Linked DNA regions of Homo sapiens: region 2 is linked to region 1. The links are contacts of gene promoters, found by promoter capture Hi-C in human tissues and cell types (Jung and others, 2019). All regions are on one chromosome and are shown on one strand. The core of a region is centred on a gene start or on the middle of the fragment in contact, and the rest is flanking DNA. Distances in the headings are between cores, read along the strand shown. Region 1 holds the start of HHEX (hematopoietically expressed homeobox). Region 2 overlaps EXOC6 (exocyst complex component 6).

What was found. Contacts are between HindIII fragments. The study calls those that stand out against the background at their distance.
Region 2: a contact is called between a fragment that was not itself captured here and the fragment with the promoter of HHEX in region 1, in 1 of the 25 tissues and cell types used here (H1 embryonic stem cells).

What each region holds. Positions count from the first base shown.
Region 1 is chr10:92,685,579-92,692,034 of GRCh38, reverse strand. HHEX (hematopoietically expressed homeobox) reads right to left here and starts at 2,080. Exons shown (of 4, transcript NM_002729.5): 1 at 1,688-2,080. The coding sequence starts at 2,048. RefSeq lists an enhancer at 1-769 and silencers at 1,300-1,449, 1,460-1,539, 1,960-2,279, 2,350-2,589. The HindIII fragment of the contact is 5,410 bases long and covers 2,052-6,456 here.
Region 2 is chr10:93,034,498-93,041,348 of GRCh38, reverse strand. The region is part of intron 20 of EXOC6 (exocyst complex component 6); the gene reads right to left. Among named protein-coding and RNA genes, the nearest start is that of CYP26C1, 23 kb to the left of the region's middle. RefSeq lists a silencer at 1,283-1,577. The HindIII fragment of the contact is 4,334 bases long and covers 2,641-6,851 here.

The DNA.
Region 1 (6,456 bases), core at 831-3,330:
TGGCTCTCGGATTTATACATAACTTTTTGCCCCCTTGGATCTCCCTTGGTGAGCCGCACTTGCGAACACCGGGTGTGTGCGTGTTGGGGAGGAGCGGGGCTGCTGCACCGACAAGGCCTGGCTGCGCGGGAAGCGCTCGGGCCCGGACACCCGCATTAGGTTGCGCGAGGAGCCTCCAATCCTGGCCGGGGGAGCCGCGGCCTCCTCTGATTTCACACCCAGCCCGCGGGGGCGGCCAGTTAAAGCCACCCCATGGGCTATGGCAACATTTCCGTCAATGTGTTTCCTGTTGGTCTAGCTCGAAAAACTCTTTGCTTCCTCCTGCGCGGTCCCAGCAGTAACCCAAGGAAACTCAGGGCGCACTGTGAAAACGTTAGCCCCCAGGCCCGGCCCGGCTGAGGGTCCCGCTCCAGCCCCGACAGGCGACCACAGCCAGGCTCGGGCCGCATCATCAAACCCTCGAGGCTGGAATCAGACAGACAGGATAACAACTCAAAAACATAAAAAGATGAACTAAAAATACAATCCCCCTCCCCTGTTAACGGTGAGAAGGTAAGGTAAAGGGCTGAGCTAGAGCCCGCGCCGTAATAATGGAGACATTAAAATGCTAATTAAGACGTTAATTGTTTTCAGGGTCCCTACTGAAGCTTCCAATAACAGAGTTCATTTAAAACTCTAGAGGCGCCCCGTTTCCTTATTTACCCTAGGGCTCCAGACCTCGAAGGCGCCAAGGGTCACCCACAGCGCGGACCACGGGCGGCTTATTTGTTAGGCCGCACATTGAGGGGACAAGCCCCGAAGTTCTGGAATATATGCCCTATGTGTCCCTGCTTCCCTTCCTAACTGGCGACCAGGAGCTGCTGCTTCCTACTCCCAAAGTAGTGTCGGTCGGTCCGTCCGTCCGTCTGCAGGCCTGCACCTCAACGCTTTGAAAGCTAGCATTGTTTTTTCGAGATTTTGCTTGCGTCAGGCTTCAGACTGGTGCAAAACAGCCTCGAAAAAAAATAGGAAGCAACTGGTTATTTTAGCTGCCATAAAGTCACATCCCACACAGAGGAAATGAACAATATCAGAAAAACGGATCCCGGCTATCAGAAGTCGAGTGTTTCCTGAATTTGTCTGTATTGAGGATGTCGATAAAATAATCAGCAGCGTGCACTACTCCGGGGGAAGGGTCTGCTTCATGCAGCCAGGAAAACACTTAACAGCTTCTGAAACCAGATTTACTCCTATCGAGAACTCAAGATTTCCTGTATGAACGGAAAGGGTCAGGCTCTTTCACTGCACAAGCCTGTTGAACCAGGTCCAGCCCCGTAGCCACCCGGGCCCGGCTGCGATCCCTGCCCCACGGGGGCCGGCCAGGGGCGCCTCGACGCCCCTTTCCCCGTCCCTCCCGCTAAGGGAGCCCCACCCCGGGTAACACGCGCGGTCCACGGCTGCCCTCGCCGCGAGGTCTACCGCCGGCCCGCGCGCCCCGACGCCTGCAAGGTGCAGGAAAACCAATCTGAGTCACGGTGCGGTCAGCCCCGGCCGCGCGCCTCCCGTCCCCGCGCGTGCCCGACAGCTGCTTTTCCATCGCTTTTGCCACAGCCGTCTACCGCCTGCCCCCTTCGCCCCCTCGGCCTCCCGGGCGCTGCCACCTGCCGGGTGGCGCTTCCTCGCCCCCACCCTCGCCCGGCCGCCTTACCCAGGGGGTCGTGGCGGAGCAGGGCGTGCGTGTAGTCGTTCACCGTCCGCGGGAAGGGGTACAGAGGGCCCCCGAAGCCGCCGGGTCCGTAGGCAGCGGCCAGCGCGGCGGCGGAGTGGTGCGAGAAGGCTGGATGGATCGGCGTGGGCTCGTACACCGGGGTCCGGTAGGGGGACACGAGGCTGGTGAAGGAGGAGTTGGGGGACGGCAGCGTGGGGGCGGGCGTGGGCGCGGCGGGCCCGCGGCCCAGGATGTCCTCGATGTAAAAGGGCGTCGGGTGTGCGGGTTGCAGCAGCGGCGTGGGCGCGTACAGCGGCACCCCCACGGCGCCCGCCGCCGGCCCGGGGTGCGGGTACTGCATGGCTCCGCCGCGCTCCGGCCCCTCGCAGAGCTGCTGGCCCGCGCCGCGGCGCTACATTTATCCGCGCTCCGCGCTCCCGGCGATAGGCTCCGCCGGCCGCGGGGTGGGGCCGCGCTCGCTGGCCCCTTCCTGCCGCCGGGCCCTGCGGCCAATGGCGCGGGGCCCCAAGAGCAGCCGCCCGCCCCCACCCCGGCCCGCCCCGCCGGCCAAGCTCCCCGCCCCCGGGACGCGCTTGCTACCAGGCTCCGGGGAACTGGCGCCCTGGTGCCCCGCCGCGGCTGTCGCCCCTGGGGACTCCAGGCACCCCGGCCGAGGACGCCCTCGAGGGAAGCCCTGGGCCGCGTCCGTCGGGGGAGGCGCGAGGAAGACCGCCTTCTGGAGTGCGGGCTCCAGCGGCCCTGTCCGCGGCCCCGAGGCACCTCTGCCGAAATTCGGGGGCGCCGTCCAGGCCTGGGCCCGGGGTGGCAGCAGCTGTTTCCAGGCGGGGAGCAGCGGGACTCGGCGGGAGCAGAGGCCGCTGGCCTAAGACGCCTCCTCGGTGGGTGCGCTCCCTGGATTAACAGTGGCGCTGGCTGTCACACCGGCCGTTTCCCGAGCTCAGAGCGGGACAGTGCCCTGGGTTCCTAGGGCTGCTCGGCGGCCCTTAGCTGCGGCCCGGCGGGATTCGGATGGCTGGAGTTCAGGTGCTGCGGACTCTTGGCCGCTCCACCTGGTTTCATTTGGAGGCCTCGGACTCAAGCCACTTCCGCGAGGATGCTGGCAGAAGCCGCTGCGAGCAGCAATCAAGGGGAGGCCCGGGTCCTACAGCGCCGGGCAGAGGCTGTGCAGTCTTCAATCCAGTGGGGGCCGCTCCGTGTCTTTTCTGCTGGCTCTTGAGGGTCGCAGCTGTGCGCAGTCTGGCTCTCTGGTTTTGCACGTGTTTTCTATTGAAGCAGTCCGTACTGCTGGCCCGTATGGCCTCGGCTCTGTGCGGCTCCACTCGCCTCCGGGGCAAGGGGGCATTTTCTTGATTGACGCCCTCCTGCGGTCGTCACACCTCGCGGTGAGCCGTTTCTGCTAAGGTCCTCCATTAATCATGGAAATGGAAAGACTTCCCTGCTTTTTCTATTGAGACTTCTCAGGTTTTAAAGTTTATAATTTGGAACTATTTGTCCAAACACAGCGGGACCACAGTAGGAAGAGGCGTGGACTGTGAGCCTGACCGCCTGTTCGAGTTTCACTTCGCACATTTTTGTTGAGCAACTACTGTGTGCCAGCAGTGAAAAGGACAGATGTAGTCCCTCTCCTCATGGAGACAGGAAACAAATTTTAATATATGTATGTGCTAGGAAGGAGATGTACATAATGGTCTAAAACCTGTAACAAGGGGACATCACCTATCTGGGGGACATTAAGGAAGGGAAAAGCTTCCCAAGAATTGATGTTTGAAAAGTGAGTGGGTGTCAGCAAGCCCAGGGTGCTTGGACATTCCAAGTCCGGAGAATAGCATGTGAGCGTTGTTAGTTAATGCAACTTCCGTCAAGTCACCATCCCTGAGTTTTTCTCATCTGAAACGTTTGAGACTTGGCCTAAAGGCTCCTGATCTTTTTAGGGTATTGTTAATAGGTATCTTTCAGAATCTAATGACAGACAAGAGCTACAAGCCCAGACAAACTCAGAAGTGTACTACACTATCATTCGAGTTAAAGCATGTTGGGGGTAGGTAAGAATATAATTGCTCTATTATACAGTACATATAAATCATAAATTTTTATATTACTCCATGATATAAACTATCTCTGGAAGGATAACGAACATTGGCTGACTATGAAGAAAGGGGTGGGATTGGAGGGGGCATGTATAGCTGTGAATATCTGGAGACTTGCACTAGATGGATGTATGACCTATTCGTCGTATAAGTAAGTCCTTGAAGAAGTGGCTGATTCTAGATCTAGGGCAAGAAAAGTACAAGGTAAGCTCAAAGACATCTTGTGTCAGAAACCGTGAAAAGAAAATAGGGACCACCTTGGAGTGGTTTCCATCGGCAAAATTTGGGGTGATTTAAGCTTTAAAAATACATTAGGGATTATACCACTTTGAATATAACAATTCGTGAGTCCATAGTGGTACTCAGAGAGAGAAAGGTGCAGTGGATGTGAAAGCTGGAAGAATGTCAGCTAACAGATGTAGAAAAATTGGTACAATCGAAAAACGTAATAATTCAAGAAGAATCATCATCAACTAACACGTGAAATGTTGAGGATGAGGATTTTCACAAGGCCTCATATCATCCCAATTAACTGGATTCTGGATTTTAAAAAACTATAAAGGAGCCGGGCGCGGTGGCTTACGCCTGTAATCCCAGCACTTTCGGAGGCAGAGGCGGACGGATCACGAGGTCAGGAGATCGAGACCATCCTGGCTAACACGGTGAAACCCCGTCTCTACTAAAAATACAAAAAATTAGCCAGGCGTGGTGGTGGGCGCCTGTAGTCTCAGCTACTCAGGAGGCTGAGGCAGGAGAATGGCGTGAACCCGGGAGGCGGAGCTTGCAGTGAGCCGAGATCGCCCCACTGCACTCTAGCCTGGGTGACAGAGCCAGACTCTGTCTCAAAAAAAAAAAAAAAAAAAAAACTATAAAAGACATTGCTTTTTATTGGGGGGGGGGATAATGGGGACAAACTATGAAGTATATGTTAGTTGACATTATTAATCTTTTAGATGTGATTGGTATTGCAGGTTACTTTGGAAAATGCGATCTTGGGAGTTGCAAGCTAAAGTCTTTAGGAGTGATGGGTCATATGTGCAGCTTACTTTTAAATACTTCAGTATATACATATATGTGCATACACATCTACATGTATATTTATACACACATATCTATGTATATGTTCATATATGTATATATAAAGAGGGATATATCACAGGTTCAGTTCTAGACCACTTCAATAAATAAACATAGCAATAAAGCAAGTCACATGAATTATTTGGTTTCCCAGTGCATGTAAAGGAGGTTATCTTTACACTTTACTACATTCAGTGTGCAATGGCATTATGTCTTAAAAAGCAACGTACATACCTTAATTTAAAAATACTTTGTTACTAAAAAATTGCTAACGATTGGCAGGGAGTGGTAGCTCATGCCTGTAATCCTAGCACTTTGGGAGGCCAAGGCTGGCGGATCACTTGAGGTCATGAGTTGAAGACCGGCCTGCCAATATGGTAAAACCCTGTATCTACTAAAAATACAAAAATTAGCTGGAAAGTGCTTGAACCCGGGAGGCAGAGGTTGCAGTGAGCTGAGATCATGCCACTACACTACCAGCCTGGGCAATAGAGTGAGACTCCATCTCAAAAAAAAAAAATTGCTGACAATCATCTGAGCCTTCAGCAAGTCATAATCTTTTTGCTTTTGAGGGGTGTTGCCTTGATGTGGATGAGTGCTAACTGATCAGGGTGGGAGGCACAGAAGGTTGGGGTGGCTGTGGCAATTCCTTAAAGACAACCATGAAGTTTGCCACATCTGTTGACCCCTCCGTTCATAAAAGATTTCTCTGTAGCATGTGGTGATGTTTGATAGCATTTTTATCCACAGTAGAACTTTCAAAATTGGAGTTCATTTTCTCAAACCCTGTGCTGCTCTATCAAGTATGGTTGTGTAATAGTCTCTCTTTTTTGTCCTTTTTTTTTTTTCTTTTTTCCTTTTTGTAGAGAATGGAGTCTCGCTCCATTCATTGCCCAGGCATGTCTCGATCTACCGGGCTCAAGCTATGCTCCTGCCTCTGCCTCCCTAAATGTTGGGATTACAGGCATGAGCCATTACATCCAGCTATGTAATATTCTAAATCCTTTGTTGTCATTTCAATAATGTTCACAGCATATTCACCAGAAGTAGATTCCATCTCAAAAAACCACTTTCTTTGCTCATCCATAAGAAGTAACTCCTCATCCATTCAAGTTGTATCATGAGATTGCAGCAATTCAGTCACATCTTCAGGCTCCACTTCTATTTCTCTTGCTGTTTCCAGCACATATGCAATTACTTTCTCCACTGAAATCTTGAACCCCTCAAAGTCATCTGTGAGGGCTGGAATCAACTTCTTCCAAACTTCTGTTAATGATATTTTTACCTCCTCCCATGAATCATGGCCTCTGGAATGGTGAATCCTTTCTGGAAGGGTTTTACTTGACTTTGCCCACAGAGGAATCACTATCTATGGCAGCTATAGCCTTACAAAATATATTTCTTAAATAATAAGATTTGAAAATCAAAATCACTCTTTGATTCATGGGCTGCAGAATGGATGTTGTGTTAGCAAGCATGAAAACAACATTCATCTCTTTGTATATCTCCATCATAGCTCTTGGGTGACCAGGTGCATTGTCAATGATCAGTAATAATTTGAAAGGCATATTTTTTTCCTGGGCA
Region 2 (6,851 bases), core at 3,558-6,057, 350 kb before region 1:
GTTCTGTAGTAAATGCACTTAAGGCAGAAAAAATAATTAGGAGACTGTTGTAACAATCTTAAAATACATTGGGACAGACAGGTACATAGTTGGGATAGAGAGAAAATGATGAATAGGTAGGCAAGTAGTTAACATGGAGAGAAGAGGATGGGTTTGAGAAATACTTAGGAGAAAAAAATCCCTAGGACGTGGTGATTGTCCAGGACATGGCAAAGTGGTTCTACCAATCAAAAAAGACAACATGAAAAAGGGATGTGATTTGAGAATAAGGGAAGATAACAAGTCAACAGCTTTGGTCACACAGCATGCGGGACACACACCTAAGTCAAATGGTTTACCAAGCAACTTGATATGTATCTAAGGCATACTGCCAGAGATCTGATGAAAGCGGGTCAGCTCACCTAGGTCAGGAGTATAGGGAGCAGTGTTCTAAGGACAGAAACCTTGGGGAAACCAACATTTAGGGGGCAGAAAAGGAGACCACAGAAAAGAAAGAGGAAGGATGTTAAGGGAGTACAGACTCAGAAGACGAGAGAATTTTAAAGAGAACATGATCCACATTACCAAATGCAGCAGAAAGAACCAATAGGATATGGGCTAAAAATGTCTACTGGCCTTCCCTGGTGACCTAAGTGAACACTATTTCAGCAGTGTGGCAAAGCAGATAGGAATGGATTGAGAAATGAATGAGAGATGTGAAAATAAGAATAATCAATTATAAACCACTCTTTTAAGGATGCAAATGAGGGAAGAGAAATTGGAAATAGCTAAAATGTTTTTAGGCTAAGAAAACGATAAAGCAGGCCGGGCGCAGTGGCTCACGCCTGTAATCCCAGCACTTTGGGAGGCCAAGGCAGGTGGATCACGAGGTCAGGAGATCAAGACCATCCTGGCTAACACAGTGAAACCCCGCCTCTACTAAAAATACAAAAAATTAGCCAGGGTGGTGGCAGGCACCTGTAGTCCCAGCTACTTGGGAGCCTGAGGCAGGAGAATGGCGTGAACCTGGGAGGCGGAGCTTGCAGTGAGCCGAGATCACGCCACTGCACTCCAGCCTGGGCAACAAGTGAGACTCCGTCTCAAAAAAAAGAAAAGGATAAAGCAGAGGAAAGGCAGATGAATAATGAAACAAAATGAAACAAAATCCCATACAAAAGATAGGGTCAAGGGCATAGGAAGATGAGAGCCTCATTAAAAAGGCTTCCTAACACCTGAGAATGAAGGACAGGAAGAATGGGTGTGGATATAGATAAGCTGACTGCAAAAGCAACAGTGAGAGGTTGATGGTGATAGAGATGGAAGACAAGAGGCTCAGAGGGGCTGGAGCTTTCACTCAAGAGTGGAGGAACAATGGTCTACAAATAGAAATGAGGAACCAGGGGAACACGAATCTCATTCACACGTGTAGCCATGAAAGAATGCATCCTGCCACTAGAGAGAGCTGCAGGGTTAGCAGTATCCTCCGAATTCTATGAAAAGGAGGTGAAGAAAGCATTCTGCCACACAGTTGAAGCAGTAGGGCCATTTACATTGCAATGAGGGTTTTCAGGTGGCATAGAATAAGTGGGCCAGAAGAAGTGAAAAGATGAGTAGACAAAACAAGGAGTGAATGAAACAGGAAAAAAGTTGGAAGGTGAGAAGGAGTAGAGTAAGGAAGTGGAAACTACTTAATTTCATTGAATAATCAAATTTTATTTTAATCTTCTCAGATGAAGGATGTGTGACTGAGAAGTAACAGAAACAGCAGTGTCTGACCAAGTCTCAGAGAGAAATGGTGGAGGCTGCCCTGAGATTTTCAAAAGGGAAGAGAAGCCTCTATTTGGATGGGGTGAATGTCCAGATATCTGGAGCAGCAGCAAGGGCACTTGCTGGGGAGAGCTTCTAAGAGGTTTGGAGCCAGGGGTTAGATTTTTGGAAGTCCCTTCCAATCCTCAAGTCTTAGGATTTTATGACCATGAAAATCACTGAATCACAATTTGAAGGTAATTGGTAGATGTTCTGACATTTACGAAAACACAAATGGGTTCAAAGAAAAGGAGAGAAATATACATTGCAAAATACTCTAGGGACTAAACAGTGACTTAACTATGAGTACTAAGCACTGCAATGCATATCTAAGAGGAAGTTTAGAGAATAATGCTATAAATGGTAGTCTCAAATAAAAAAAATACCTTCAGCAATATCAGCCTTTTGGTGTATATTAGTAAAAATTTTCATGACAACTATTATCCACTTGGCTCTGAAGAGGTCACTATTGACCTTTTGGTCTCCCAAAGTGCTGGGATTACAGGCATGAGCCACCATGACCGGCCTTTTTTAATAGATGGTATATATATATATACATATATAGGTGGAAGAATACATCCCTTTGAAGTGCTAGCAAAGTGTTGGCAGCGTTGAGTTCTCTGCACCATCTAAATTAGAAGATAGGTGGCTCTATGGGCCATTGATAACTTCCTAAAGTGCGGAGTGTGTACATATACTTACTTTTCCTTTGTATGTTTGTTTTCACTTTCTAATCAAATTTTGAGTTCTTCAAGGGTAGAGGTAATAGCTCTTCTCCCTTTAGGGTACTCAAAGCTTGTTGAACTGAGCTAAATTATATTTCATAGAACACTTTAAGAAGCAAAAGTTTAAGAACTGTGTCTCTTCTGGGACAAAACAGCCATGAAGGAAAAGCAGAGATTATACATGAAAAAGCTTCTAATTTAAACCACTGGAAAGCTCAATATTGTTGAATCAATATTGCTTGAGTCTAGAACTCTGTCATGTATATATACGTCTCATTCAAGTAGAGTGCTGGCTGTTCTCTATAAAAGTAGAAGTTGACTTTCAGGGAAATTACGTGTCATGTTCAAATTTATATGTAAAATAGGATTAGAAGATAATTTCTTCAATTTATAAATTAACTGCTTAAACAATTAGACTAGGATGGCTTAATTTACACAAACATTTCTTTTTATTTGTATGTGTAGCCAATCTGCTTTCAAAAAGAATGCTTAGTAGGATTTTTTTAGAACTCTGTTGTCAGATTCACACTTGATATGGCAAATACAGTATAGGTTGTCTAGGGAATATTATTTTATGTAGCAAAAAGATCATAACTGAAAATAGGAATTGTGGTTATAATATCCACTAGTATGTAAAACAAACAGTGCATTTACTGTTTTTCTAACAAAGCATTTAAATATTTAAACTTCCCATAACTATCCTCCAAACTGAAAGAAACCTGTAACAAAAAAAAAAATTTCCAGTCAACAAAAAAAATTTATTAGAGAAAAATTTTTTTTTTTTTTTTTTTTTTTTTTGGAGACGGAGTCTCGCTCTGTAGCCCAGGCTGGAGTGCAGTGGCGCGATCTCGGCTCACTGCAAGCTCCGCCTCCCGGGTTCACGCCATTCTCCTGCCTCCACCTTCCGAGCAGCTGGGATTACGGGCGCCCGCCACCGCGCCCGGCTAATTTTTTTGTATTTTTAGTAGAGACGGGGTTTCACCGTGGTCTCGATCTCCGGACCTCGTGATCCGCCCACCTCGGCCTCCCAAAGTGCTGGGATCACAGGCGTGAGCCACCGCACCCGGCCCGAGAAAAATATTTCTTAAAAATGAGTAATAGCCAGGTGCGGTGGCTCACACCTGTAATCCCAGCACTTTGGGAGGCTAAGGCAGGCGGATCACCTGATGTCAGGAGTTTGAGACCAGCCTGGCCAAAATGGCGAAACCCTGCCTCTACTAAACATAGAAAAACTAGCTGGGTGTGGTGGCACGTGCCTGTAATCCCAGCTACTCAGGAGGCTGAGGCAGGAGAATCGCTTGAACCTGAGAGGCAGAGGCTGCAGTGAACTGAGATCACACCACTATGCTCCAGCCTAGGCAACAAGAGAGAAACTCCATTTCAAAAAAAAAAAATGGAGAATAATAGGGCTGGATGTAGTGGCCCTATTAATCCCCGCACATTGGGTGGCTGAGGTGGATCGCTTGAGGCCAGGAGTTTCAGAACAATCTGGGCAACATGGCAAGACTCTGCCTCTACAAAAAATACAAAAATCAGCTGGGTGTGGTGGCATGCACCTGTAGTCCCAGCTACTCCGGAGGCTGAGGTGGATCACCTGAGCCTGGGGAGGTTGAGGCTGCAATGTGCCATGATCACACCACTGCACTCCAGCCTGGGCGACAGAGAAACCCTGTCTCCAAAAAAAAAAAAAAAAAGTAGAAGAAGAAAGGAAGTTTGGCAAAAATGTGAATTAATTTTGAGAGAAAAGATATAGCTCCTTGTTGAGTAATGCCAATGTTAATAGTTAATCATTAGTTTACTGCATATATGATATTTATCAAAGGCCAGAATATCACTACCCTCCATAGTTGACAAACTGTTCTAAAAATTTTAACCTATCCCTTTCAGTGAAAAAAAGAGCAGGAATATTGATAATTGAAAACAGGTAAATCTGGGACTGTCTCTTTTTACATTATGCACAGTCTGTGGAAACAAAGATTTAATCCTTGTGTAACTCACTGAAAATTTACCTTAAAATGTATCATATTACAATAATGCTTATATTGTAAATAAGAAATATTCTGTATTTGCCCAACTGCAAACTTAAATGACTTAATTTTTTCCATAAATCTGTTAGCTTTATTTATTGTCATATTGCCAAGTTACGTATCTCTTTTAAAAATAATTCTGATTTATATACTTTTTTGGAGAGCTTTTTCAGCAGTACCCAGTAATTCCACTTCTAAAGGCCTACAGAAATACTTACACAAGTGCTCGATATATATGTATAAATATATTAATGGCAGCTTCATTAATAGATAGACAAAACTAAAGAATCCATAATGTCCAACAAATGAGGACTTGTTTAATAAATTATGGTATATGTACACTATAGACAGTACAAAGAAATTAAAAAGAATGAAACATCCATATTTACCAATATGAAAGCATATGTTGCATGAAAAATGTGAATTATAACATACCTCCCCCAAAAAGGAAATAACTACATGTGTGCATGTAAGTATCTGCATGTATACATGTTCGAATGTACACTACAAAGGTCTGGAGGGAAATAATGACTGTGAAAGACTGAAGAGGAGGGGAAAATAAGAGCTTTCTCTTTTTTTTCTTTTTTTTTTTTGAGATGGAGTTTCACTCTTGTTGCCCAGGCTGGAGTGCAATGGTGTGATCTCGGCTCACTGCAACCTCCACCTCCCAGGCTCAAGTGATTCTCCTGCCTCTGCCTCCCAAGTAGCTGACATTACAGGCATGCGCCATCATGCCTAATGTTTTGTATTTTTAGTAGAGATGGGGTTTCTCCATGTTGGTCAGGCTGGTCTTGAACTCCCGACCTTCGGTGATCTGCCCGCCTCGGCCTCCCAAAGTGCTGGGATTACAGGTGTGAGCCACCGTGCCCGGCCTGAGAGCTTTCTTTTTAGGTTTGATTTTAGTTTAACAGTGAACATACAATATCTACTTCCTGTGTTTTCGTTTCTGTTTTTCTGGAGACAGAGTCTTGATCTGTCATCCAGGCTGGAGTGCAGTGGCAAGATCTTGGCTCACTGCAACCTCCGCAGGCCAGGTTCAAGCAATTCTCATGTCTCAACCTCCCAACTAGTGGGGATTACAAGCATATGCCAATGCACTCGTCTAATTTTTGTATTTTTAGTAGAGACGGGGTTTTGCCATGTTGGCCAAGCTGGTCTAGAGCTCCTGGCCTCAAGTGATCCGCTCACCTCAACCTCCCTAAGTGTTGGGATTACAGGCGTGAGCCACCACGACAGGCCCCAATTTCCTGGTTTCGACAAATACTATAGCTATGTAAAACGTTAGCACTGGGGGAAGTGTACAAGGGACCTCTCTAAACTATATTTGTAACTTTTTGTGAGTGTGCAATTATAGTACTTTTAAGAAATTTTTAAAAACAGTGAGCATAAACAATTTTTGTAATTATCACAGTGTTTGTTTTTGGTTTTTGAAAAATCATTTTACAGGGTAATTTTCCAAACTACAAAACAGCTCTAACGTTTACTCTTAAAATAATCATAAAAATTTGAGTTCAAAGTTCATATCGATAGCTGAAGGCATAAGCACCTATCACCTACATATTTAAGCACATAAACTATAAACTTCCGGAATTATGACACTGGAGCAAAAAGAAGAAAAACGCAAAAGTCATTTAGGTTCAGACTAATCCTTTAAAATCTAAGCTTTCCCAAAAGGGCAGCATACTTTTCTAATATCTGGACCTTAAGGTAAACTTTGTGAGATGTCTGGTCTTGTTATATTCAGAAGTAAACCCAAATGTATCTTCCTTTAATTCTTTGGCACTTCAAATGAATTTAGGATTGTCTGAGGAAAAAATGCTTGCTGGAGGAGCTGTGTGAACAAGCTTGTTGTCCTGCTACTATATCTAGTCAAGCATTCAGATACTACAACTTTGGCAAATCCCATTAATACTTTAAGAAGTCAACGACTTTAAAACTTCTAAAGAAAGTTCCTGTGAAGTAGTCACAGGGGCAAGTTTAAGCAGGCAGGGTGTGTATACAATATAGTAACAAAATAATGCAAACAAAAGAAGATTTGTTTAATTATAGTGGAAATAATTGTTATTTAAAAGTGCCTTCTTCCTCATCATAAAAGAATAAACTGGACCAGTGGCAAAAGAATTGTATGTTGTGATGCCTTAAGATTAGAAACAGAAGACAGAAATTTCAAAGTAAAGTCCTGGCAGACGTCCAGTCTCTATGGCAAGAATTCTGGCCAAACAATTCCTTCATAAGATTCAAAGCTTGTTCATGTCCCTTTAGACAGAACTCAAAGTTGTTCATTTTGAGTCAAATACAAGTGTATGTTTATCAG